Regions from separate parts of the Homo sapiens genome. Here all the other regions are linked to region 2. The links are contacts of gene promoters, found by promoter capture Hi-C in human tissues and cell types (Jung and others, 2019). All regions are on one chromosome and are shown on one strand. The core of a region is centred on a gene start or on the middle of the fragment in contact, and the rest is flanking DNA. Distances in the headings are between cores, read along the strand shown.

Region 1 (3,912 bases), core at 237-2,736, 450 kb before region 2:
ATAATTTTACCTGGAAAAAAAGAGTATGAGATCATGTCCTTTGCAGCAACATGGGTGGAGCTGGAGGCCATTGTCCTAAGCAAACTAATATAGAAACAGAAAACCAAATACTGCATCTTCTTACTTATAAGTGGGAGCTAAACAACAAGAACACAGGGACACAAAGAGGAGAACTACCAGACACTGGGGCCTACTTTGAGGGTGGAAGGTGAGAGGAGGGAGTGGATTAAAAAAATACTTATTGGGTATTATCCTTATTACCTGGGTGACTAAATAATCTGCACAGCTAACTCCAACAACATGCAGTTTACCTATATAAAAATCCTGCACATACATGTACCCCTAAACCTAAAATATTTTATTTAAAAGAAGCTCTGATGAACACAAGTGCAATATCAAGGAGGGAATTGACATGGAGAGACACCCATCCTTGGTGACATATTTAGAAACAATGTCATTTGTGTGGTTTAGAGTTGGTAATTATTACTCATAAGAATTTTCAAACTGATTGACAATACAAAATATATTTGACCCCTCAAGTAATACATTCGTTTCATTGTTTTTTAAAATGTCATTTACATGACTGACTTTAATACCTGAATTTCAAACAAATGCAATGTATGCACTTCTCAACGTAACTGAAAAGATATTGCATGTTTTCAACCATATGAATGGCCCAGTAAGTAGCATTTAAATCAAAATATAGCATTTCTCTCTTGCTTCTGTAATGTTCATATTCTAAAGCATGTTCCATGGGCTAATATGTTATACAAGAACAGGAAGCTGCTGTTTTACATAGAGAATTACTTTAATAGTCAGCTAAGTCAACCTAGAAAACCCCTTCTGGAAGGTTCCACTCAAATGTTACCTCTTTATTGCACTATTCCAGGACTCAGTCATTACTTCTTCTGTGTTTTCCTAACATTTTATATCAAGCTCTTATTATATCACTTATATCATTTATTATTTATATATTTATCTTTTAAACTATGCTTTTTCTTATTCTTAAATATTTGCCTTTTAAAGTTGTTTCTTGGCTGGGCATAGTGGCTCACACCTGTAACCTTAGCAGTTTGAGAGGACGAGGCAGGTGGATCACCTAAGGTCAGGAGTTCGAGATCAGCCTGGCCAACAAAACAGGCTGGTGAGACCCTGTCTCTATTAAAAATACAAAAATTAGCCAGGCATGGTGGTGTGCACCTATAGTCCCCGCTACTTGGGAGACTGAGGCAGGAGAGTCACTTACACCTGGGAGGTGGAGGTTGCCATGAGCCGAGATTATGCCACTTTACTCCAGCCTGAGTGACAGAATAAGATTCTGTCTTAAAAAAAAAAAAAAAAAAAAAAAAAAAAAAAATTCCCAAACTTAATGCTGTTACAACTAGGTTTTAAAGAATGGTCATGAATTGAATAGTAATGGATATAATGGATATCAAACTACTTCGATCATTTAGAAATTTTCTACATTTAATAATCATTTAAGGAAGGGCATAATTACTATTATTCCCAGTTTTCAGGAAAAGAACCTGACAGAGTTTTCTGGTTTTAAATAAAATGCAGTGTGTGTAATGTGTCCAGATTCACATTGCTAGCAATAGAGATTCAGGACTCAGATTTAGCCATTTTGTCCCTAAGACCTTAAGGACAAAATGGCTAAGCAACTGAAATGCAAAAATTTCCAACCAAGAAAAATGTTTATATTTAAATTGAAAGATATGGGTAAAAATAGGATATTCAAATTTTTTAAAAAGGGAAAACATTAGATAAAAATATTAAGACAAGTAAAAGCTAATAAAACATTGAAGAAATTCAAATTAATGTGAGCTGGTTCAGATTTAGACCAATCTGTTTTGTTTTATAAGATGAATACTTTCAAATTTGGGGTGAAATTATTACGTTGTTTTAATCATTTAATTTACACATTCCTTTTTTATTGATACAATAGGAAACATAATGGCCTTATTGAAAACTCAGTTCTATAGTATTATTTTATATATTCCCATGTTGAAATATTACTGGATCATGGAATCAGAAGGAAATGCATTGCCTTATGAGAGATATCTTTGGGTGGAGCAAGAGTGTTTTAACAGGGAATGAAAATGGAAATTAATAAATACCATGAAATTATAAGAGAAATTTTGTGTATATGTGTACATATGCATTTCTATATGTGTACATATGCATTTCTTTGGAAAGAAGTTCCATAGCATTCATGAAATTCTCAAAGTCATTTATGACCACAAAGAAGTCATGTAGAAAAAGGAGCTTTGGAACAAGAGCCACTTAAATCCCATTTACAGACTCCTGTGTGTAAATTGCTTTCATTATGAGGTTGATGAGGAAATTAAATTACATAGCCTATGTAAATAACTGGTTTTAGAAGGTGCATAATAATGCAATATATACTAATTCTCATTCTTCTTAATTACTTGAGGAATAAAGTCCAAATTATTTAGCTCAACATTCAAGAAACGTACAAGATTTTTATTAAGCTTCCTTTTCTGTCTTCATTTTTCCCGTACTCTATTTTCTAGTCAGATGGGATTATTCACTGTCAAGGACCATACTTACCTTCTCATTCTTCTAGTCTCTTGTTACTGTTACTCCTCCAAACTCATTCAATTGATTTCATCTAATTTTTGCCCAAACATTAAGGACTTAATATTAAGACCCATCCTAATGAACCTTTGATAACTGTTCCATGTATATATTTTTTACTCCTCTAAATTCAAAAGCACTTTTTAACCTCTAATGATTTTGAATGTTTTATTTAATAATAAGAATATGCACGTGTCCTGTAACTTCTCTCTTAGGCTATAAGCTCCTTGGGTCAAGGATCACATTTTCCTCAACGTTGTACATACCTAAAACCCAGAAAAAGCTGACTGTATATTTGTGGAATTAATGAATGGTTCTAGTCAATCCCCTATTTGCAGACCAGAAATAAATCTCTAACATCCTAAAGATGTGCACACTGTTATTCTGTACTTTAAACTTACAATAAGCTGTCTAGCATGAATGTTACAGAAATTTAAATGATAGAAATAAAATGTCCCTTTTCTTCACAAAAAAATATAATGAACTGCTTATAACACTTAAGTCAGTGTCTGAGCCTACAGATGCATAAAATGTCCTAAAATGGTTCATATTTTTTACAGAAAAGGCATCAGAGTATGTTTTATAAAGTTAGTTCACCTTGCCTTTAATAAAATACCTATTAATATCAACTACAGAACATATCAGTTTTTCTCTTTTTTTTTCCCTCTTTTGGTTATTAAAGTGCTTCCTTTTGTGAAATAACTTTTGTTTCAGAACTGACTACCCTGATTTCATAATCAAACAATTAGCCAAAAACTAAGTATGTCCCTACTTTCCAGAGGTCAACATTTGACAAATTACCTTTCATAGTTCTTAGTTCTTAGTTCTGAATCACCTTCATTCTAGTTTTTTATCCTTCCCTCTAAATAATTTGTGAAATGAGAGAGACAGAAAGAGAAAGAGACAGAGAAATCGAGAAGGAGGGAGGGGTGATAAGACAGCAAAAATCATGTTGGGGATAGCACTCAGTGAACTTAGTTAGAATAAATTTATTGCCTGTGATGAAGCCAATCAATCTCAAGAACATTGAGAAACTTTATTAATCATAATGAACATCAAGAGAAAAAATATTAGGAGAGATTCAGGTTATCATAAAATGGTTTTAGAAATTGGTTTCCTTCTCCCAGTGAGTTGTTATACATTGTCTTTATCCGTTTATCAAAACACTGCACTTCCACTAGTGGAATGAGGTTGCAAAAATCAGAAGACAAAAAGCAAACAAAACAAAAAAACCAAACCTTTTAACAGGAAATAAAACATTTTGATCAGAATTCCCACAAATCTCTATGTTAAAATTTTAGTTTGTTTAAAAGA
Region 2 (3,631 bases), core at 1-2,500:
GATAATGGACGGGCCCCTCTCCCAGCTGGGCTCCGCTCCCGCCCCTAGCCTGGCGCGCGGTCCCTTCCCCCACCCGCTGAGCCTTCCTGTTCGGTATTTCGGTATTACCAAGCTATAAATTGCCTGAGAGCTTAGAGACAATCAGGTCACCACCGCCCTCACAAGAGAAAAGCTTCTTACTTCCGAGCAGAACGGTTCAGCTGGGAAGAGAGGAAGCAGGGAGAGAATCTATGCTTTAGTCGTCACTGCTCTGGCAAGGGGTCGAGAGAGATGGGGGAGGGAGGTGGCAAAAAATAAAAATGAAAAAATAAAAAAGCATCTCCAACAATGTTGCACTTGACCCAAGTGTACAAACTTATTGGTCGCTGCAATGGAAACTCCCAGTGCACTCTCCACGGCCTGGCAGCCGCCGCTGATGGGTGGAGTCGCGCTCCCGGCCCCACCTATGGGACGGAGCTGCTTCTCCCGCATCTCGGCTCCACCGCACCCTTCGCGGGAAGTCCCCAGGCTTCCAGCAAAGCTCAGCTTATCCCGCCCCCGCTTCCAACCCGGAACCCCAGAAGAACAGCATGATGAGCCTCCGGCAGCCAGGTGGGCCACCTCCCCGCGGCTCAGTTTGAGGACACTTGTGCGGAACCCTTTCACATCCCCACCCTACCCAGCTTTCACAACTCCGCCGGGTTAAATGGCCAAAGACAAACTTCTACCTCTCCTGTCCCCGGTCCCAGCTTTTCAAAAACCCACAGCTGGCGAACCCACACACATCGAAACTCCTAGGTCGCTGTTGCAGTCTGGGCATGCTCAGTATCAGGGTAGGTTTTGATTGAGAGTAAAAAAAAAAAAAAAAAAGCTTTGTATTATGCTCTCTTTCTCCTGTGCATACTGCTTGCTGAACAGCTTGTGGGGCATTCCTGAGTCTACCTAGAGGTTTTATCAGACGCCCTTGATTGTGTCTCCTTGGGATCTGTTCCCCTCTTACTTCACCCCCTCCCCCAACCCGCCTCCACCCCGCTTCCCAGGTCCCTGTCCGCTGTGGGGATGGAGAGACACTAACAGAACTGGGATGGGCGATGTTGGCTGAACGGATCCACCTATTATTAGTGCGCGGGGATTGGCTCCTTGGCGCAGCGTACCCGAGGTGGAGCCAATCAGGATGCTGGGGCTCGGAGATGATGGGCGGCCGCCTCCTCACTGGAGGGATTCCTGGAGAAGCTGCAGTGTGGGGATGCTCTAGACCGAGTACTGCCCCCAGTGTCTTTCCACCTCCTCCTGCAGCAGCGGCAGCGGCAGCAGCAGTTAGCAGCGGCAACTTGAGGCTGCACCCCGGGCAAGTCCCCAGGGTGGTGCTCAGCCGAGAGGGGGGCTTGGCGCCCCGAAGGGGTGTGTGTAGGGTGGGGGCGACCACGTGGGACCAGCTGGTGGCCCTGGAAAACCTCCCACACACCCACACCCACACACCCCTTTTGTGTTGCAGGCTGCCCCTCCAAGAGCGGAGGCAGCGAGAGTACGCGTGTGCCTCGCGCCGGTCCACGCGGGGAGAGCACTGGGGACCGAGACCCGGCACCACCTCCCGGTCCGCCCTCCAGGTAAGGAAGCGGGACTGGCGGCGCGGCCACCTCGGCGGTGCCTATCTGCTCGAATCCATCCCAAAGATTTTCTTCTCGATACACTTGGGTTTTAGTGGTGGGAGTCTGAGACCTAGGGAGGGATCCCCGGGTGGCCTATTGTGAGAAATATGAGACTACATGTGCATCTCCTGGAAAAGCACTTTGCACAGCGCCCGTGATTTAGAGCCTGGAGTTGATGTTGGGCATCCCCCATCTTCTTGCTTCCTCTTTCCTTCTCTTGTTCTCTCTCCTCCGTCCCCCACCCCCAATCTCAATCTTTTCTCTCTTTCTCTCCCACACCTCCCCTCTCGCCCTCCTCCCACCCTAAGCACGCACAGCGTTTCTTTCTCCTCCTGGAGAGGATTGCCTTTCTTAGAGGAAAGAGGGGGAGTGAAGAAAGGAGAAAGATTTCTTTCTGTTGGGGAGAGGGATATGGGGGGGGGGGGGAACGTAAACAAGATAGAATACAAGCTCTGCGAAAATCAGAGCACATAAAGCAATTAAACTGAATAAGGGGAGTAGACAACCAGTCCAGCTTGGGCTGTCAGAGAGAGGAAGCGTCAAGTTTGACTTGATTTCCTCCTTGCAAGAGTCTATGTCTCTCACTTGATTCGTTCAAATGGAACAAAAATAAACCGACAATCCAACCCACTTTCAACTGCTTAATTGCTTTTGCTTTTGAGTGCCAACCATCTGACTTTTCCTGTTTCCATCTGTCCTGTGGGGCTAACAATTTGGTATTGCACATCAGTGTTAATATCTGAACTTTGAAAGCTTTCTTGAGTAACAAAAAAAAAAAAACAATTAAAATAGATTATTACTTTCCTGAGGTTTCTTGGTATGGCCTGTTGTTGGGGGATCAAAAAATGTAAAGTTTCAAAACATTTGCAAGGGACAACAATTTTATAGGGAGGCTTGGATTTCTACTTTGAGAAAGCTAATCTTCTAGTTAGCTTTGTGTACATGTTGATATTCACTTTCTCCAGTATTAACCCTTTCGTGAAATAAAGCAACTGTTTAACTTTTGTATGGAAGCTACATTTGTGTAGAATTTTCACTTTATTCTACCTTTGTACTATTTGCATTTTATTGTCTGGATACCAAACTTATGCCTGGCTTTATTTTCTTTTAATAGGACAATATTTAATGGATGTAAACATGATGTTTATACAATTTCAGCACTCCCTTTAGAAGGCACATGGAGGCTCAGTTGGACAAGAATCCTCCTGTACTGGAACTAAGTTTAGAAAGTAATGCTAGAAAGATACCCTAAATTTTAAAAATCCTGAAGGGGAAAACATTTTTGTAACGTCTTGTTAAAAGAAAGAAAAATATATCAAAACACCAACATGCCCCTGGCTGCCTGCATAATAGGTCAAGTAAATGGTACTTGTTGGACAGAGCCTTTACAGCAGCTTCAGCAGTCTCTAATTCCATCATTGGGGATATAAGCTTTCTTTTCTTATTATTCTTCAGGGACAGCTAAGCGATAGTACTGTCAGATGGAAGGAGGTATAGAGAAATGCCTCGTTTGATGTAATAGGAAAGCATTCCAAGTGGGTCTTACCTGAACACAGAGAAATCCACAGATGTTAGTATACAAAACACTTCTTTTTATTTATCAGGGGAAATGCAGAGTCTTACTTTTTTTTGTCTAGAACTCCACTTGATATAAGAAAAGAGAATCTTCTATCTTAACTGTGTCTGACCTTCCACACTAATTTTGTATCTCAGAGAGTATTTTTTCACTACGTACGTTTAATATATAAGTTTACACACCAACTTAGAGAAGAGCTGAATTCATTTGCCATCAGTGTAATGTGTACTATTTTCCAAACCATTTTGCATTTGAGGCAATGATCTCTCCCTAAATAGAATTACCAAGTCACGAAAAACGATTTTCTTTCTAGGGCTTTGACATTTAAATGAAAAAAAAAAAAAAATAGTGTCTCTGTTGAAAGCTAACTCTGGTTTTTAGAGGTGCCACCTTTTGGTTACAAGGACAAAGGGACAATCACTTAATT
Region 3 (3,807 bases), core at 1,272-3,771, 480 kb after region 2:
CCCTCCCTCCCTCCCTTCCTTACTTCCTTTCTTCCTTCCTTCTTCCCTCCCTCCCTCCCTTTTTTTTTATTATACTTTAAGTTCTAGGGTACATGTGCACAATGTGCAGGTTTGTTACATATGTATACATGTGCTGTGTTGGTTTGCCGCACCCATTAACTCGTCATTTACATTAGGTATTTCTCCTAATACTATCCCTCCCCCATCCCCCGACCCCACAACAGGCCCGTGTGTGATGTTCCCCACCCTGTGTCCAAGTGTTCTCATTGTTCAATTCCCACCTATGAGTGAGAACATGCAGTGTTTGTTTTTCTGTCCTTGTGATAGTTTGCTCAGAATAATGGTTTCCAGCTTCATCCATGTCACTACAAACAACATGAATTCATCCTTTTTTATGGCTGCGTAGTATTCCATGGTGTATATGTGCCGCATTTTCTTAATCCAGTCTATCATTGATGGACATTTGGGTTGGTTCCAAGTCTTTGCTATTGTGAATAGTGCTGCAATAAACATACGTGTGCATGTGTCTTTATAGCAGCATGATTTATAATCCTTTGGGTATATACCCAGTAATGGGATGGCTGGGTCAAATGGTATTTCTAGTTCTAGATCCTTGAAGGAATTGCCACACTGTCTTCCACAATGGTTGAACTAATTTACACTCCCACCAACAGTGTAAAAGTGTTCCTATTTCTCCACATCCTCTCCAGCACCTGTTGTTTCCTGACTTTTTAATGATCGCCATTCTAACTGTTGTGAGATAGTATCTCATTGTGGTTTTGATTTGCATTTCTCTGATGACCAGTGATGATGAGCATTTTTTCATGTGTCTGTTGGCTGCATAAATGTCTTCTTTTGAAAAGTATCTGTTCATATCCTTTGCCCACGTTTTGATGGGGTCGTTTGATTTTTCTTGTAAATTTGTTTAAGTTCTTTGTAGATTCTGGAAATTAGCCCTTTGTCAGATGGGTAGATTGCAAAAATTTTCTGCCATTCTGAAGGTTACCTGTTCACTCTGATGGTAGTTTCTTTTGCTGTGCAGAAGCCCTTTAGTTTAATTAGATCCCATTTGTCTATTTTGACTTTTGTTGTCATTGCTTTTGGTGTTTTAGTCATGAAGTCCTTGCCCATGCCTACGTCCTGAATGGTATTGCCTAGGTTTTCTTCTAGGGATTTTATGGTTTTAGGTCTAACATTTAAGTCTTTAATGCATCTTGAATTAATTTTTGTATAAGGTGTAAGGAAGGGATCCAGTTTCAGCTTTCTACATAATGGCTAGCCAGTTTTCCCAGCACCATTTGTTAAATAGGGAATCCTTTCCCCATTTCTTGTTTTTGTCAGTTTTGTCAAAGATCAGATGGTTGTAGATGTGTGGTGTTATTTCTGAGGGCTCTGTTCTGTTCCATTGGTCTATATGTCTGTTTTGGTACCAGTACCATGCTGTTTTGGTTACTGTAGCCTTGTAGTATAGTTTGAAGTCAGGTAGTGTGATGCCTCCAGCTTTGTTCTTTTTGCTTAGGATGTCTTGGCAATGCGGGCTCTTTTTTGGTTCCATATGAACTTTAAAGTAGTTTTTTCCAATTCTGTGAAGAAAGTCATTGGTAGCTTGATGGGGATGGCACTGAATCTATAAATTACCTTGGGCAGTATGGCCATTTTCATGATATTCATTCTTCCTGTCCATGAACATGGAGTGTTCTTCCATTTGCTTGTGTCCTCTTTTATTTCCTTGAGCAGTGGTTTGTAGTTCTCCTTGAAGAGGTCCTTCACATCCCTTGTAAGTTGGATTCCTAGGTATTTTTTTCTCTTTGTGGTAATTGTGAATGGGAGCTCACTCATGATTTGGCTCTCTGTTTGTCTGTTATTGGTGTATAAGAATGCTTGTGATTTTGCATATTGATTTTGTATCCTGAGACTGCTGAAGTTGCTTATCAGCTTAAGGAGATTTTGGGCTGAGACAATGGGGTTTTCTAAATATACAATCATGTCATCTGCAAACAGGGACAATTTGACTTCCTGTTTTCCTAATTGAATACCCTTTATTTCTTTCCCTTGCCTGATTGCCCTCTGGCCAACTACAATTTCATACCATGATGGATGCCATGTTGCCCATTAGGGGGTGAAACAGTGTTTCATATTGTTTTAAAGGACCCATAGAGATCTAAAGCTTTAGCTAAAGGTAATAAATGGTAGAATTTCAAGTACCTCAGCACACTATAGCATAAAGAATCTTTTGACAAGGACACTTTTGGAATTCACTTTTCCCTACTCTCCACTAAAAAGTCACAGTAGTAATTATTTACAAATTCCTCTACTTTCTCTATAGTGGTCCTTCCTAATACATGTTTCTATAATGACACCTACAATTTTATGTTGAATTTTTGTTTATATGCCTGTTCATGCCAGCATTGAAAAAGCTTCTTAGGGCAAAGACATGTTTTAATCATCCTTTGTTTCTAGTTCTTTGTAGCATGACTGGCATATTGAAAACCCAACATAAGGGTTTGACATATAAGACTAAGCTTTACTCATTTTCTACAAACCACAGATTTTTAAGTGGATCACTAATTATACTTCTGAAAACACTGTTTAGAAGTCATTTATTTATTATTAGTATTAATTATTTCAGGCTAGGCTACAATAACAAATAGGCCCAAACACGTAATGGGTTCTGCAAAAGAGAAGTCTTGGCAGGTAGGGCTCTGCTTTATTAAATCTTCAAGGATCCTGTCTCACTGAACCTCTGCCATCTTCAGCATTTCAGCATGTAGCTTCCAAGGTCACTCTGAGGTCACTATCACAGACATAGAAAAGAAAAAAAATCATGGGTAGGAGTTCTGGGGGACTGGGTCTAGGAGTGGTGCACATCACTTCTGTTCACATTCCATTAGCTAGAACCCAATCACAAGACCACATCTAACTACAAGAAAGGCTGGGAAATGTAGTCTAGCTGTGTTCTCAGGAAGAAGAGCGTGGACTTTTGGTAAACTACAGAGACTCTGGCAGTCTCTGCCAGAGTGGAATACTTAATAAATACATTCATTCTTTTTTTTTTTTTTTTTTTTTTTTTTGAGACAGAGTCTCGCTCTGTTGCCTAGGCTGGAGTGCAGTGGCATGATCTCAGCTCACTGCAAGCTCCAACTCCCAGGTTCACACCATTCTCCTGCCTCAGCCTCCCAAGTAGCTGGGACTATAGGCACCCGCCACCATGCCCAGCTAATTTTTTGTATTTTTAGTAGAGACGGAGTTTCACCGTGTTAGCCAGGATGGTCTTGATCTCCTGACCTCGTGATCCACCCGCCTCGTCATTCAGAAAGATGTGAAAGATGAGTGAAAGTTAACTAAGTAAACGGGAGGGTGGCAAGAGGGCAGAATGTCAAGCAAAAGGAACTGTTTATGTGAAGCCTCTGAAAGTGTAGGTGGCGTGGCACAGTTAATGATATAAAGAAGGCTTTCCCCTTGTGGCTGTTGCGCAGAGGGAGAAAGAGGCATTTGATGAGGCAGAGGAATAAGTAGGAAATAGAACTTGAAGATTATTCTAAATGATCATAAGAATTTGGGCCTTTTAACTCAAGAGAGATAGGAGACCTACTTAAGGATTTTAAGATTTGGTTTTTTGATGTTTTGTTTTTTAGAGACAGGGTCTTGCTCTGTTGCCCAGGCTGGAGTGCAGTGCCACAATCATAGCTCACTGAAGACTCAAACTCTCGGGCTCAACTGATCTTCCTGCCTCAGCCTCCTGAGTCACTGGAACCACAGGCATGCACCACCATGCCCGGCTATTTTTTTGTTTTTTGTAGAGATAGA
Region 4 (3,973 bases), core at 262-2,761, 510 kb before region 2:
GCACTTTGGGAGGCTGAGGCGGGCAGATCACGAGGTCAGGAGATCGAGACCATCCTGGCTAACATGGTAAAACCCCGTCTCTACTAAAAATACAAAAAAATTAGCCGGGCATGGTGGCGGGTGCCTGTAGTCCCAGCTACTCGGGAGGCTGAGGCAGGAGAATGGCGTGAACCCGGGAGGCGGAGCTAGCAGTGAGCTGAGATCGCACCACTGCACTCCAGAGCCTGGGCGACAGAGGAAGACTCCGTCTCAAAAAAAAAAAAAAAAAAAAAAAAAAAAAAAAAAAAAGAAAAGAAAAATGTTGGGAAACAACTAACAGTTTTCCACAGATATAAAATATTAGCATATCAGTATTTTCATTCTTAAAAATTATCTGGAGAGCAACTAACAATGCCGCTGGATAATTAAGTTATACATTTTCTACAATCAGAAGGGCGAGAAGAATCAACTCTCTAGATCTCGCATACACTATGGTATATATATAAGCATTGGAGTTGTATTTTAGTCATTTCTGACTACTCGTTTTTAAAATCTTTTAGTCCCTGAGGATTTCTATCTGTGCAGATGTATAGACAATCTGACATTTTTGAAATTTTGTAAGTGCAGCATAAAATCAAAGAAGGAAGTTGGTTTTGGGCCTCTATCTTCACCCATTTGCTATGAGGCTTCTGGTCCTGGGGAAGCCTTTTCCCCTAACCATTGAAGAGTTCAAGTTGTGATTCTCTTCATCTCTTCTCATAGACAAAGCACTTGAGTCACCATATTTTTATCATCTAATTAAGCTCCAGCATAAGATTTTATCGAAATCTCCCTATAATAGTTATTTTTCATCTACATATTTTTGTATTTAGTTTAAATTAATCTTTTCTACAATATCCTGTCTGATCCTGACATTGTACGCAGTGCGCTGGCAAGGTCTTATGTGATTTAATAACATTGCCTGGCTCAGGATGAATTTAGTTCAGTTCTTACAGTTCAAGTTCCATAAGGCATTGTAATAACTTTATAGTATATTGCAAGACTATTAAAATAATCACTCCAGGCTGGGCGCAGTGGCTCATGCCTGTAATCCCAGCACTTTGGGAGGCCGAGGTGGGCGGATCACCTGAGGTTGGGAGTTCGGGACCAGCCTGACCAACATGGAGAAACCCCGTCTCTACTGAAAACACAAAATTAGCCGGGCATGGTGGCGCATGCTTGTAATCCCAGCTACTTGGGAAGGCTGAGGCAGGCGAATCACTTGAACCTGGGAAGCAGAGGTTGCGGTGAACCAAGATCGCGCCTTTGTACTCCAGCCTGGGCAATGAGAGCGAAACTCCGTCTCAAATAATAATAATAATAATAATCAGTCCAAAAATCCAGGCTCTCCAGAGTCCTTCTAATGAAATTGTAATTTATTCATGAGTAGACATAATTTGAAATAATAGATCACATCCTGCATCATCCTGTGTTATTATATTTTGCACATTAATATATATGTCCTTTAACTTACTGTATCTCATAACAATATGAGTTTCAATATCTCATATTGAAACATCACAAATATTTGTTATTAGATTAAATAAATGAACAAATACTTATTAGATCTATTATATTGAGTGATCAAATTTCATTTTATCTATCTGTAAAACATAGAGATTTTCAAAAGCAATTTTATTCACACAATAGACTCTTTTGCATCAAATGGTCAATTAATTTGACTAATCTTTTTTAAATAAAAATATTCTAGTAAATTCAAACAAAATTAATTTGACTGCTTTTTGTCCTGATTGACTGATCGATTAGTCATTTGACCCAAAGTATTCATATTGATTTCTTGTTTAGTTAAAGCCCGTGTCTCCTAGAGTCCCAGTTCTACTAACTTCCATCTAATAAAATCATTTCTTATACTGTCTTAATATATTGAGACTCAAATTATGTAGTAGAAAATAATTTAGTCAATCAGATATCTGTGGCTAAAATATGGTATGCTGAACTTTACATATTCAGAAATTATAGCCTTAACACTTGTAAGACTATTTTAAATAATCACAGAAAATAAAATGTAATATTCTGGATACATAACTAAAATTATACATACAGAAAAATTCAATTTGCCTCTTTATGCACAGTTTAAGTGATTCTTTGCAAATTTATTTGGTTATTTTTAGTATAGCTATAACAAATTTTCAAATAATTGACTCAGGTCTGTCTCTACAATATCCAGAATATCTGACTGCCACTCATTTTCTCCATCTTTTTGATTTATTGACAATTGCCTAGATTAATACCAATATGATTGGAATAATTAACTCTAGGCTTCAATGCCAACTCTATAAATAACTGCATTTTTATATCTCTGATACTTTAGCAAATGGAAATATGGAAAACAGTACATCTGAAGCATAGCAAGACTTTTAAGAAGATTTACCGTAAAAACCTCAAGTTTAAGCTTTGAATATCAGCAAAATTAAGATAAGTTTATAAATGATTAAAAATAATTATAACCATTGCTAGTAAGAAAGAAGTGTTTAGTCAGGAACTAGAGAGGTCTACCCTATCCAATATTGTTTCTACCTATGGAGACTTTATAGGCATACTAACAAAATTCTTGATAAAGGATGTGAATTTTAAAATGCACTATATTTCCATACGAAGATGTCAAAATACCTTCAACGTCTTTTGTGCTTGTTGACAAAAAGAGTGAAATTCTGTAAAATACTTTTAGAGATTTATTCTGAGCCAAATATGAGTGATCATGGCCCGTGACACAGCCCTCAGGAGGTTCTGAGATCATGTGCCCAAGGTGGTTGGAGTACAGCTTGGTTTTATATATTTTAAGGAGGCATGAGACATCAATCAAATACATTTAAGAAATACATTGGTTTGGTTCAGAAAGGTGGGACAAAGCAAAGTGGGGGCTTCCAGACTGTAGATAAATTTAAGCATTTTCTGGTTGACAATTGATTGGGTTTGTCTGAAGACCTGGGATCAATAGAAAGGAAATGTTCAGGCCAGGCACGGTGGCTCACGCCTGTAATCCCAGCACTTTGGGAGGCCGAACCAGGCAGATCACCTGAGGTCAGGAGTTCGAGATCAGCCTGACCAACATAGTTAAACCCCATCTCTACTAAAAATACAAAAATTAGCCTGGCGTGGTGGCGTGCACCTGTAGCCCCAGCTACTTGGGAGGCTGAGATGGGAGAATTGCTTGAACTTGGGATGCAGAGGCTGTAGTAAGCCAAGATCGCACCACTGCACTCCAGCCTGGGTAACAGAGACTCTATCTCAAGGAAATGTTCAGGTTAAGATAAAAGATTGTGGAGACCAAGAGACCAAGGTCCTTTTGAAGTCTTATTGTGGCTGCCCTTAGAGACAACAGATGACAAATGTTTCTTATTTAGATTTTTTTTTTTTTTTGAGACAGAGTCTTGCTCTGTCAATTCTCCTGCCTCAGCCTCCTGAGTAGCTGGGATTACAGGAGTGCACCACTACACCCGGCTAATTTTTCTATTTTTAGTAAAGACGGGGTTTCACCATGTTGGCCAGGCTGGCCTTATGAGCCCCACCCACCTCAGCCTCCCAAAGTGCTGGGATTACAGGACTGAGCCACCACGCCCGGTCCTGTTTAGATCTTTAAAAGGTGCTAGACTTAATCTCTTAGTTAATCTCTTCAGGATTGGGAGGGCCCGGAAGAAAAAGATCGAGCTATGTCAGTAGAGATTCTTTACAGATGCGAGTTCCCCCACAAAGCTCACCTTTGCAGGGCCATTTCAAGATATGGCAGAGAAATGTGTTTTTCCTTGTTATGCCAGAGCCAGATTGGAAAGTAAGTCATGATATACAGGGTTAAATAAAACCCATTCTGATGAGAATTTATGGTTTGTGAGAATTTATGACTTGCCAGACTCCTTAGATAGGAATTTGAGCAATTAAAAAAAAAATCAGAGATTTGTCCTCATGCTGAATCCAATAAATCAGGTACTAAGACTTC
Region 5 (3,951 bases), core at 1,297-3,796, 470 kb before region 2:
TTCTTCAAAGATGCAAATTTGTGTTTTTTCTATTGTGAAACCATATGGAGTACACCCTCAGACCTGTGCTAAGAAAAGACAGCCAATTTTCTAGATCCTATTCATATGCTGGCAATAAATTCAGTCTGAAAAGGATCTGACTGTTAGCTCAGAGGGATGCTAAGAATTTGGGTATGATAATAGGGGTATTATTATTTATTTTGAATAGCAAAATTAGTAAATTATTATTACCCTGCAGGATATAAAACCTAGTGAAACTAATTTGGAGTCATGGTTAACACCTCGAGGTCTTTGTATCTTCTTTAAGCTTTTTATCTCTAATTGTGAAGGACTTAGTCTCTAATTAAAGGCTGATAAGAGAGATTTATTTTTCCATTCTTCTTTTTTTGTTTTAGTTATTTTGCCTTGTATCTGGGAGTAGGTGTGTTTTTTGTCCCTGAAGTCTTCTACAAACTGAGATTATCCCTAAAGGTTAAGAGTCCTTTTAATAATCAAAGATGCAGAATTAGAATGAAGGGTATGGTGCTTAAGCTTGCCTTCTAGACCCACATATTGATGGTTTTATGCATTAATAAGTAGAGAAATTACTTTTATGGGTTTGATCAGCATTTTTACTAGATGGACTTGAGTAGAAATATCAGGGGGTATTGTAAATAGTTAGGGCAGATTTTGTGTTAAATTTTTGTTTCAGTGACATACACAAATGAAAAAGGCTGCTGGATTTTCCTCAAATACCTGTTCTTTTCTTCTTAAATGATAGACAGCTGCATTTTGACTACATTTCCCAGCCTCCCTCTAGCTGGGAAAGACCATGTGACTTCCCCCTGAAAGAATATAAACAGAAGGGAAGTATGCTGCTTTGGGGTTGTGCCTTTGAGAGAAGGAAATTTGGCCTCTTTCTTCTCCTGACTTCTATTTTAGCTGGAATGCAGACATAGTGGTGACAGCTGAAGTAGCAACTTGTATCACTAAATAGAAATCATGTGTTGAAAATGGCAAGACAAGAAGATTGAATGACCCTGAAACCCTGATGATTATGGTGCCTCCATATCATCTTTGGACCACCTAGCTGACTTCTAATTAAGACATAAACAAGCATCTGTCTTGTTTAAGCTTTATTTCGGATTGTCTCTGACCATGGTTAAATTGAGTGGGCCATGGGAACAACACTTAAAAATACTATATTGGCTTAGTGACTAGGTGGCAGGAAGTGAGGACACAGATATTGGACTGGATAGCTGTTGACAATACGTATATTATGGCAAAACATTTTAGAAAGTTGACTTGGAGAGATCTTGGACATAAGACCATTTGCCAACCAAGCCTTTAACTCTTATACTCTTGCTGCCTGCATTGGCTGTTTTGTTTTTAATTTTTAATTTTTTTTCCACATAGCAGAGTCTTACTAGAGAGACAACTCAAGTTAGAACTAGTCACTTGCAAGGTGAAAAGGAAAAAAATGTAGTTGTGGTAAGATAGGCTTTCTGGGGTTTTTATTTTTCTTTACTTGTTTTTGGCCTGTGATCTAAATTGACTAGAGTCTTATGATTCAGGGCTTTAAAAATCAATTCTGACAGAAAAACAAAGGCTTCTGTGCCCAAACTGAGGCAGTGATAAAATGAGTCTCTAAATCAAGAAATAGTCTTAGCAGAAGATAAGTAAGGCTGGACAAAACCATTAAGACTGCCAGACAATAGGAGCCAGCCCAGTGGGAAACATTAGATTAAGAATGTTGCCTTCCTACTAAAACCAATTGTTTTATTTCTCCTTAAGTTGGTCACTATTAAATTGAGCAAGAAGGAAATTGACAGGACATGGAAGCAAGTAACTAAAGGCCAAAGTTTTCAGGCTAAAAAACAACATTGAGATGAGAACTTTGGCTTTATTTACTTGCAACCAGAACTGGTGGAAATAGAGTCTGTGGACCTACCAAAGGTTTTTGCAGTATTGCATTGCCAAAGAAACCTCGGGCCAGGCTTACAAAAGTCTGTCATAGCCTACCCGTTCAGGCAAACTGTGTCTCCCTAAACCTGTACCAACCATCAGGAAGAAGCCTGCCAGCATTCTGAGTCATACCAAGTTGGTAAGACTCTCCAATGTCTACTTCATATCTGGCCATGGAGATAATGGATATGCAAGAACCTCCCTAAAGGCAAAGCCATAAATTCATAGGATAATAACGAAGAAAGGTGTGCAGCAGAGAGTGGTTCAAAGTGCTTCCAGATAGCTTAACATAGGAAATTACTCCACTGCCATGATATTGAATCCAGTTACTGCTGTATTGTTTCTATTCTTCCTTTTTAAAAATTGAGCTTTTTAAATATTATGTCTATCCTGTTATTCACCACTATGGTTTAGGTTGGGGAGCAGGGGAAAGATAACTTTAGCAAGATGCAGGACCTGAATAGATCTTTTCAGTTGTCTCTCTTGGAGGGTGGGATGGGGAAGAGCATGTTTTAATTGTCGTTGAAAAGTGTGACCTAAATCGGCAGTGATGGCAGAGACTGAAGTAGACTTCGATATTCATTCTTCTTTTCTATTCCAGAGAAAACTACCTTTCCACCCAAATTCATGCTGTCATGCATACTACAGAGTTGATATTGGGAAGTAGGTGCTTATCCAGGGACATTTTTAAGCCCCTTTTGCATCTAAATAGGATCACAAAACTGCTTGCCAATGGATGATATAAAAATGACACATTAAATCTGTCATTTCTTGGTGAAGGTGTTTAAGAAACATGAATACTTTCTCCATCCTCTTTTCTTACTTCCTCAACCATGTAAAGAAGAGAACACCTCTCTCACCTCCCCAGCAATGGAACCCATGTATTAAAGATGGCAGAGCCAGTATAAGCCTATTTCTGTTGACAAATGCCAGACACAGATGAGAAATAAACTTTGATTGTGTTTGACCTATTTTTCATTTGAGGAGACCTCTCTTTTTTGTTTTTAAATAGAAGCTAGCATTACCCTAGCCTACACATCTTTTTCCACCTAATAGAATATTAACTCAGCTCATGACCACTCAGCTAAAACTGGTATTTTCCAGTCCCTTGTACCTCTAGATGTGACTGCATAATAAAGCCCTGCCAGTAGGATATGAACTGAATTGAAACGTATAACTTCTATTGCATGAACTTTAAGGCGAGAGTATGACCTTGCTGTAGTTTGAATAACCCATCCAAAACTCGTGTTGAAATTTAATTGCTATTGCAACAGTATTAAAGGGTGGAACATTTAAGAGGTAGTTAGGTCTTGAGGGCTCTGGCCTCATGAATAGACAAGTGCTGTTATTGCAGGAGTGGGTTAGTTATTGTGGAAGTTTGGCCCGTTTTTTTTCTCTCTCACACTCACTTGCCCTTCTACCGTTTTGCCACCTCAGGCCTTTGCCAGATTGGTACAATGCTCTTGGACCTCTCAGTCTCCAGAATCATAAGCTAAATAAACTTCTTTTCTTTATAAATTACCCAGTCTGTGGTATTAATGTTATAGCAGAAAAAAAAGAATATTAAATCATGTCTATCTATTAAATAGTCCCCTCTTTTTTGTTTTTTCCTTTTTGTCATTGATTGAGTGTGGCATGGTGATGGGCAGTGAAGCACCTAGCTTAGACAAAAATGTGGTGTAATGAGGAAGGCCAGACACCAAAAGAGAAGAAACCTAGCTCAACATTCCAGGCCTGATTCTTCCATCTGGAACTTCTCATGAGAGAAATGAACTTCTTTACTTTATATCTCTCTGTTAAAGCATAGGAACACCTGTTCCTGTGCTTAACTTATGCATATATATGTGTGTAGTTGCAGTAAAATGTACTTTTGCTGTGGGTTACAATTTTTAAGGGTATATATTAACTATTCTACTATATTCTCTTAATATTATTTTAATATGATATTCATTCATTTATCCTAAATGTTTTCTTCTTCATGCTACCTCAATGGATCAAGAGCTCATG
Region 6 (3,868 bases), core at 179-2,678, 490 kb before region 2:
AAAATACAAAAATAGCTGGGCGTGGTGGCAGGCACCTGTAATCCTAGCTACTCGGGAAACTGAGGCAGGAGAATCCCTTTAACCCGGGAGGCAGAGGTTGCAGTGAGCCGAGATCACGCCATTGCACCCCAGCCTGGGTGACAGAGCGATACTGTGTCTCAAAAAAAAAAAAAAAAAAAAGAATTTACCACCACCTGAAATATTATCTATTTGCGTTTCTAGAAAAACAACTAAGACATAAGCTCTACAAGGATAAAATAATAATTCACAATATATCTCCAGGGCCTAGGATAGTATTTGAAATAAAATCAGCATCTAAGAAACATTTATTGATCGAGCGAATGAATGAAGGAATGAATTAATTTGACTACTGCCAGGTTGGTCCAGGGGCAATGCACAAGGTGATCAGAAATTAAAGGTTAATATTTGTTACTGTTGTAACAATCCTGCCTTGCCCCTGCCCCACTGCCCATAGAGACACATGCTTCAATCTGATTTGGGAGGGATTTGAATATATCTAAATGTGAAAGAAAGAATCCCATTTACATATAAAAGTATATGATTCCTATGATTCCTCTTATAAAGGAATAATTAATAGCAAAAAAGAATAATACAAAAGAGAGACAGTCACTCTGGGACTACCCTGCACTGCCTGATAGAGTGGCAACAGTGTCCAGTAGGACCCCATGGGACCCAGATGACATGGAGACAATACCAGTTAACAAGCATTCTAATTGTGTACAGAAATATTACGTATGGTGAAAACAAAAGCCTGACTGAAGTTCTGAGACTACATGATCTATTAAGGGCTTCACTTTTCTGTCATCAAGTGTGCCTGCCTCTCTGTCATATGGAGACACATAAACTATGCTGATCTTTTCTTTCAAATATTTATACATTGATTTATATATAGTTGTACTTGTATTCTTTATAGATGTTAGCAAATTTTGTCAATGTTTCACTCAGATATAAAATTTAATATTTAATTATTCTCCTCCTTTCTCATGTAAGAAATCTTTTCTGGTCTTGATAACTTATACTGGCCTCAAAAGATATATATTTTTATAGGTTATCTCTAACCACATATTTTACATATGAACACTGAGTGTTTCTGTGGATGAATATGCAGATAGGCTTTTTGATGGTTGTGGTCTTCCACTGTTTCTCAGCTGGTCACTAAAACCTAAAACAAAGGCAAGTAAGTGCCACTATCCCCTTTGTTTATATGGTGTTTGCAGTCTACACTTCACCTTTAAAAAAATTAAATACTTATGTTTGCCAGGCATCACTTGCCACCACTTTATGGCAGGAAGCAAAACAAAACAAAACAAAAAACAGTATACATCTATGTTATTATTCAATTGATATAATTTTTGGCATTTTAAAATTACATTATTTAGAAATCTAAATTGAAATTTAAACACAAAAAATTGATTAGCTGAAAAGAGGAAAGAGCAAATTGATGTAACAAGCAGTATCAGCCATTATGGAGCCATGGCTTAGCTATTCATTTCCTCAACTCTCTTGTATGTCTGTATGCCCCTACTTTTGTTTCCTAATTTAGAGGTTGGCTGGTTCTCTCTGTGAACATCTCCACTGTCTTTCCCTTTCCATGTATCTTTAATACAGCTCCTAGAAAAATCATTCTACGTCACTGTAGTAAACATGCATGTCTCTGCTAAAAATTCTTTGATAACGCGCCATTGTCAATCAAATAAAGCCCCATTTCCTAGCATGAAATTCAAAGCTTTCCTGACTTCACCCCACTGAGCTTTTATCTCTTGGTACTATTATCCCTCTGTGTTACTTTGTCCTCAAACCAGGTTATTCATTTTTCTCTCTCGATGACCTAAACTTTTTTCAAAAATCTCTGTGCTATGTCCCTACTGTTTTCTCTGCCTAGAATGTCTGAGTCCTATTCTTCCTTTAAAATTGCTACCTCTTTCATGAAGTCTTTCTAACTACCTGGGGTTGGAATTAATTTTCTATAACATTTTAACAACACTTACAACATTTATCATTTTATCCCCATTGTTTATTTCCATTGTGTTGAAAGATAAATTTAGATACCATAAAGTTGTAAAGAGTAGATCTGAGCAGACATCGATTTGTAAATGGGGCAGCCTAAAGACTACAGGCAGTTTGGGGCTCTAGCAAGGAGGCAGGGTACGGAAGGAGTTGGAAGATTTTTATAAGAGGAACACTGAAGCAAGGAAAAGAAAATATTTGATTAATGAAAGTGTTGCAAGTAGCCTTATTTAGATCATTCCAGTGGAAAGTCCCTAGTTCGAAGTTAGTTGGTTATTCCCGATTGTTAAGGTTAAGTTTTGTTGTGCCTTTTATACTGAGTTGTATTTCTGTTTGCTTACTAGGAACCCAGGGCACTGGGGCTGCCTCAGCCTAATTGCCTCTCAACTAATATTTTTAACAACTGTTTATCACATTTCTTGTTAACGAACATGCTTAACCAATGATTTATTCTAATTCATAGCTATCCCTTCTGCAGTACAAGTTTAGACCCTCGAATGAGCAAAACCCTTAAATATTTATCAAACCAGTGTTGATATAGTTATATTTAATATGATGAAGTTAAATAATCTTTCCTCTGTTCATGGCATCCATATATTTGATTTTTTTTTTTTTTTTAACTTCTTTCCTGTCTTTGAAACAGCCTGGCGAGGCATTAGTGCATACATCTCAGTGACAGGCCTTCTGTCAACATTTTCTCACAGAGATCTAATTTTGAATTTTTAATTTCTCAGTTTAGTGCAGTATTGAGTAAAGCTAAATTTTCATGTACAAATAACAAGAATCTTATTTATAAATTAGAATTATGAATTGGAATTAGAGTAATTTTAGAAAATTAGAATTTTATTTATAAATCAATACAAATCAAAATAACACCCACAGATGGTGGTCTCTTTGTTATGTTTCTTACTTTTGGTCTGAGTTTCCTCCTCCATGATATGATGTGGATGCTTCCTGCAGTCATTTCCAGCCTGTGCCTTCTAATATTTTTTTGCCTATTTTAATATCATCTGTGAAGACTCAGTCTAATTTTGCCACTTTTATTCTTATATTTTAAAGTGAGTATTAAAATTGAGTAAGCAATCTGTGATAGTAACACTGTATCCATGAAAGAAATAATCATGTTATTAACCATAAACTCTTTTTCTCTGGAAAACAACAACAGATGGACTCTCAGGTAGGAGCACTGCTCCACATCCATTCTGGATGCACAAGCCACGTTGCCAGCATCACTTCTCATCTGCCTTGAGAACTGAATGAAATTATGGATGTAAAACTTCTTAGTAAGGTCTAAAGCTCTAGTCACATCCAGAGATTAGTTATTAATAGTTTTGTCACTGGATTGACAGTGTGATTATAAGGCCATGACATTTTTGTTTTAAACAAATTTACTAGCAATTAAACATCTGAATGCATTTTTGCTTCTTCAAATAATATTTGGGAAGTTATCCACTAAGTCCAGTGATTCTGATTTGCTCTAAAATGGTTTCAAATCCATTTGAAAATAGAGAAAGAAAAAAATAGAATGAATAAGACCTACTATTTGATAGCATAATAGATGACTATAGTCAATAATAACTTAATTATATATTTTAACATAAAGAGTATAATTGTATTGTTTGTAACTCAATGGATAAATGCATGAGGAGATGGATACCTCCTTCTCCACAATGTGCTTATTTTACATTGCATTGCCTATATAAAAACAGCTTAGTTACCCCATAAATGTATCCACCTACTCTGCACCCACACAAATTAAAAATACAAATAAAAATATTTTTTTCAAAAAGAAAAAAACATTGATAAAGGGTTCACTAAATATACTGTGATTTTAATGAAA
Region 7 (3,769 bases), core at 400-2,899, 500 kb after region 2:
TCTTTTCATACATAAGTAAAAAAGTAACTCAAATCAGCCCCCTCTAATCCTTTCCCATTCCTCAGAGTTAATTGACTCAAGGAAATAATTTGAAATTTCATATCCTTCCAGGTTTTCTTTCTGCTTATATCAATTCTATACATATATATACAAATATATATACATTTTACAAAATGGGATTTTAAACACATTATTCTGTAATTATTTTTAACCTACCAATATATAATGGAGATCCTTTGGGCCAACATATAGATCTGCCATATCTAGTGGTTGCATAGCATCCCTTTGTTCGAATGTATCATGGTATATTTAGTAATTCTCTTATAAATATAACTATGAGAAAAACTATATAAATTCACTGAAAGACTTCAAATGAGACCTAAATAAATAGAAAAATAACATGCTCTTGGATAGGGAACAATATAGTAAAGATGTCATGCTTCCCAAATAAATGCCATAAATGAATTTGAAAGATGAGTAACACACGAAAAGAAAGCTTTGCCTCACATAAACAGATCAAGTATTAATATCCCTGTAATACAAAGAGTTTCTACATATCAGTGAGAAAGAAAAGCAATAGGAGAAAGTCTCTATTTTATTAATGTTCCTAAAATTTACTTGCTGCTGCTTCTACTACTGGCTGCTGTTGCTGAGAAGTAAAATGTTACATTTATACAATGTCATTATGCATCTAAATAAGAAAGGATTTTAAAGTAAGATGCAATTACCCTAAGTTCAAAATCTAAAAATGTGTTGCTTAAAAAGACAGCCTAGACTGATTGCAAAGAGTACCAGAAAAAAAAAAAAAAAAGCAGGTCATTAGCTTGTAGATTTTCATATTTTCATCAACTATATTTGCAGGAGTCTGAATCCATTAAAACACTCAATCCAGCAGCATTATTATGATAACAACTTGAAAAGATATGTGACAGTCACTAAAAGTCAAAGTAAAAATACATACCGCTATGAAAGTCATTTTGAAGGGAAGTTCCCAATTTCTAGACTTTATAAAAACAATTAAGCATCTGAAAGCTACTTTTACTAAAAGTTGCCAATTCGTGTATCTAGAAAACACTCCTGCATTTTACAGCACTGTCTTTAATGTAGTGAAAATATTGCAAATGAAACTAGCCTAAAGGGCAATAATATATCACAGTATATCTCCAGTTACAGTAATTAGGAATCTATTCTAATCTTACCTGAAAGATATGTTAGTGTTTTATGTTTATAAGGATTTCACCAAAATTTTTTAAAAATAGCTTAGTAGAAGAGATTTTAAAAGAGGCAGTGAATGTTTATGAATTATGCAAGTCTGAACTTTCATTTTAATAACTCCATTAAAATATAAAAACCTTAAAAGCCTCCCATCAGGAATTTAACTTTATAGAAATGCTTTATATGTGCCCTGACCTTGCCAAGAGGCAGGCCTAAGGCATGATTTAACAGTTACTACAAGGCAAAGCCTAATAATAAATACCTATCTGAAAATGCCAGCATTTGTCCCTGCCTCCTTGGCCTCCAGTGGAGTTGCAACTCAGCCATAAACAGGCCCTCTCCTGAGAGACAGCAGGGCGCAGCAGAAAGGGAGCAGCAACTGGCCCTGGAAAGCCTGGATCGGAAGCCTTTAACCTTTCTGATCCTCAGTCTGTTCATCTATAAAACTAGGGTATTAGAGACAGCCATATTGTTGAATAAACAAATGAGATAACATTAGGTGAAAGCTCCAGGTAGAAAGCACTATATAAATATTGGTTATTTCTAAGCAAAAGACAGTTCTTGGTTAACTCTTAATTTTTGTCACCATATCCTGGCTCCAGGAGAATGTGTGTTCCTATATGGCTGATATAAATAATACTGTGTGTGTGTGTGTGTGTGTGTGTGTGTGTGTGTGTGTGTGTGTGTGTGTGTTCAAAGAATGCCTCTTCATTATTTGGATGGCAGTTAACTGCTTTGGCTAACTTATGTTGGCATCCTGAAGCTAACAGCAAATCCTCCTCCCATCTCCTGTAACTTGTGGCCACAAGACCCAGCATATTTTATAAGAAATCAGACCAGTAGTATATTTCTACGATCTTCAGTTTGTTAAGCTATTTATTTGAGTTAAGACACCGAGTTGTCTTCCAAGTACTTCTTTTATGATAACAGATCCAAGACAGACACAGCTAATTTGGGCAACAAGTAGGGACAAAGAGGAAGAACAGAGCCTCTGTCATCCTAATTATCAAGTTAATGCCTGGTTGCTGGACAAACTCTCCCTCTCTCTAAAATGAACCACCGCAAGTTGGAACCTGCTGTTGCAATGTTAATTTGACTAGAAGTGGCAGGACCTGGTCCCAGAGCAGCTCCTGGTTGTCTTTCCAAATAATTTTGCCCCAGGTAATAAATACCTAATTGATGCAATATGAGTCAGTATTTGTTGTTCATTGCTACATAATTGAGTGGTCAAGGTTTCATCTTTCACCTGTCTCTACAAATTCTTAATCTCCACAAGTAGTCAACATTAAAAACAAGAAAGTTACCCATGTAAATTTCTACATGCTTGCATCCAAACACCCTTTGACTCTCTTCAGCTTGCTTTCCTCTCGATGAAATTTCATTTTCCATATTAAACATATCTCCAGGCTGTGCCCATCTTGGCATTTCAAAAAAAAAATAGAAAAACCTGGTTGGATTATACGTCTGCCTTCTCCTTAAATCAGATGAATTGCTCCACTTGCCGGTAGGATAAATAGTTCAGTTAAAGCATATACTAAGAATCTCAGATAAGTAGCTCAGTTAAAACATATACTAAGAACCTAGGTAAGAAATGTGAAAAAAAAATATTGCTTATTAGTCCTACAGCAGAGATGATACCTTTTTTTAAAAAAAAAAATTATTATTATACTTTAAGTTTTAGGGTACATGTGCACAATGCGCAGGTTAGTTACATATGTATACATGTGCCATGCTGGTGTGCTGCACCCATTAACCCGTCATTTAGCATTAGGTATATCTCCTAAAGCTATCCCTCCCCCCACCCCACAACAGTCCCCAGAGTGTGATGTTCCCCTTCCTGTGTCCATGTGTTCTCATTGTTCAATTCCCACCTATGAGTGAGAACACGCGGTGTTTGATTTTTTTTCCTTGCAATAGTTTACTGAGAATGATGACTTCCAATTTCATCCATGTCCCTACAAAGGACATGAACTCATCATTTTTTATGGCTGCATAGTATTCCATGGTGTATATGTGCCACATTTTCTTAATCCAGTCTATCATTTTTGGACATTTGGATTGGTTCCAAGTCTTTGCTATTGTGAATAGTGCCTCAATAAACATACGTGTGCATGTGTCTTTACAGCAGCATGATTTATAGTCCTTTGGGTATATACCCAGTAATGGGATGGCTGGGTCAAATGGTATTTCTAGTTCTAGATCCCTGAGGAATTGCCACACTGACTTCCACAATGGTTGAACTAGTTTACAGTCCCACCAACAGTGTAAAAGTGTTCCTATTTCTCCACATCCTCTCCAGCACCTGTTGTTTCCTGACTTTTTAATGATTGCCATTCTAACTGGTGTGAGATGGTATCTCATTGTGGTTTTGATTTGCATTTCTCTGACGGCCAGTGATGGTGAGCATTTTTTCATGTGTTTTTTGGCTGCATAAATGTCTTCTTTTGAGAAGTGTCTGTTCATGTCCTTCGCCCACTTTTTGATGGGGTTGTTTGTTTTTTTCTTGTAAATTTGTTTGAGTTCATTGTAGATTCTGGATATTAGCCCTTTGTCA

Evidence for each region. Contacts are between HindIII fragments. The study calls those that stand out against the background at their distance.
Region 1: a contact is called between a fragment that was not itself captured here and the fragment with the promoter of SYT1 in region 2, in 1 of the 25 tissues and cell types used here (dorsolateral prefrontal cortex).
Region 3: a fragment that was not itself captured here is called in contact with the fragment with the promoter of SYT1 in region 2 in 3 of the 25 tissues and cell types used here (dorsolateral prefrontal cortex, lymphoblastoid cells and mesendoderm cells).
Region 4: a contact is called between a fragment that was not itself captured here and the fragment with the promoter of SYT1 in region 2, in 1 of the 25 tissues and cell types used here (dorsolateral prefrontal cortex).
Region 5: a fragment that was not itself captured here is called in contact with the fragment with the promoter of SYT1 in region 2 in 2 of the 25 tissues and cell types used here (dorsolateral prefrontal cortex and mesendoderm cells).
Region 6: a contact is called between a fragment that was not itself captured here and the fragment with the promoter of SYT1 in region 2, in 2 of the 25 tissues and cell types used here (dorsolateral prefrontal cortex and lymphoblastoid cells).
Region 7: a fragment that was not itself captured here is called in contact with the fragment with the promoter of SYT1 in region 2 in 2 of the 25 tissues and cell types used here (dorsolateral prefrontal cortex and hippocampus).

The regions. Positions count from the first base shown.
Region 1 is chr12:78,411,995-78,415,906 of GRCh38, forward strand. No RefSeq gene overlaps it. Among named protein-coding and RNA genes, the nearest start is that of LINC02424, 54 kb to the left of the region's middle. The HindIII fragment of the contact is 8,122 bases long and covers 1-3,912 here.
Region 2 is chr12:78,863,524-78,867,154 of GRCh38, forward strand. SYT1 (synaptotagmin 1) reads left to right here and starts at 1,251. Exons shown (of 11, transcript NM_005639.3): 1 at 1,251-1,586. RefSeq lists a silencer at 35-94. The HindIII fragment of the contact is 3,235 bases long and covers 1-1,615 here.
Region 3 is chr12:79,338,616-79,342,422 of GRCh38, forward strand. The region is part of intron 8 of SYT1 (synaptotagmin 1); the gene reads left to right. Among named protein-coding and RNA genes, the nearest start is that of MIR1252, 79 kb to the right of the region's middle. The HindIII fragment of the contact is 5,061 bases long and covers 1-3,807 here.
Region 4 is chr12:78,352,873-78,356,845 of GRCh38, forward strand. The region is part of intron 1 of LINC02424 (long intergenic non-protein coding RNA 2424); the gene reads right to left. Among named protein-coding and RNA genes, the nearest start is that of LINC02424, 4.9 kb to the right of the region's middle. The HindIII fragment of the contact is 3,570 bases long and covers 1-3,296 here.
Region 5 is chr12:78,387,847-78,391,797 of GRCh38, forward strand. No RefSeq gene overlaps it. Among named protein-coding and RNA genes, the nearest start is that of LINC02424, 30 kb to the left of the region's middle. The HindIII fragment of the contact is 4,254 bases long and covers 420-3,951 here.
Region 6 is chr12:78,372,425-78,376,292 of GRCh38, forward strand. No RefSeq gene overlaps it. Among named protein-coding and RNA genes, the nearest start is that of LINC02424, 15 kb to the left of the region's middle. The HindIII fragment of the contact is 7,939 bases long and covers 1-3,868 here.
Region 7 is chr12:79,365,040-79,368,808 of GRCh38, forward strand. The region is part of intron 9 of SYT1 (synaptotagmin 1); the gene reads left to right. Among named protein-coding and RNA genes, the nearest start is that of MIR1252, 52 kb to the right of the region's middle. The HindIII fragment of the contact is 5,891 bases long and covers 1-3,769 here.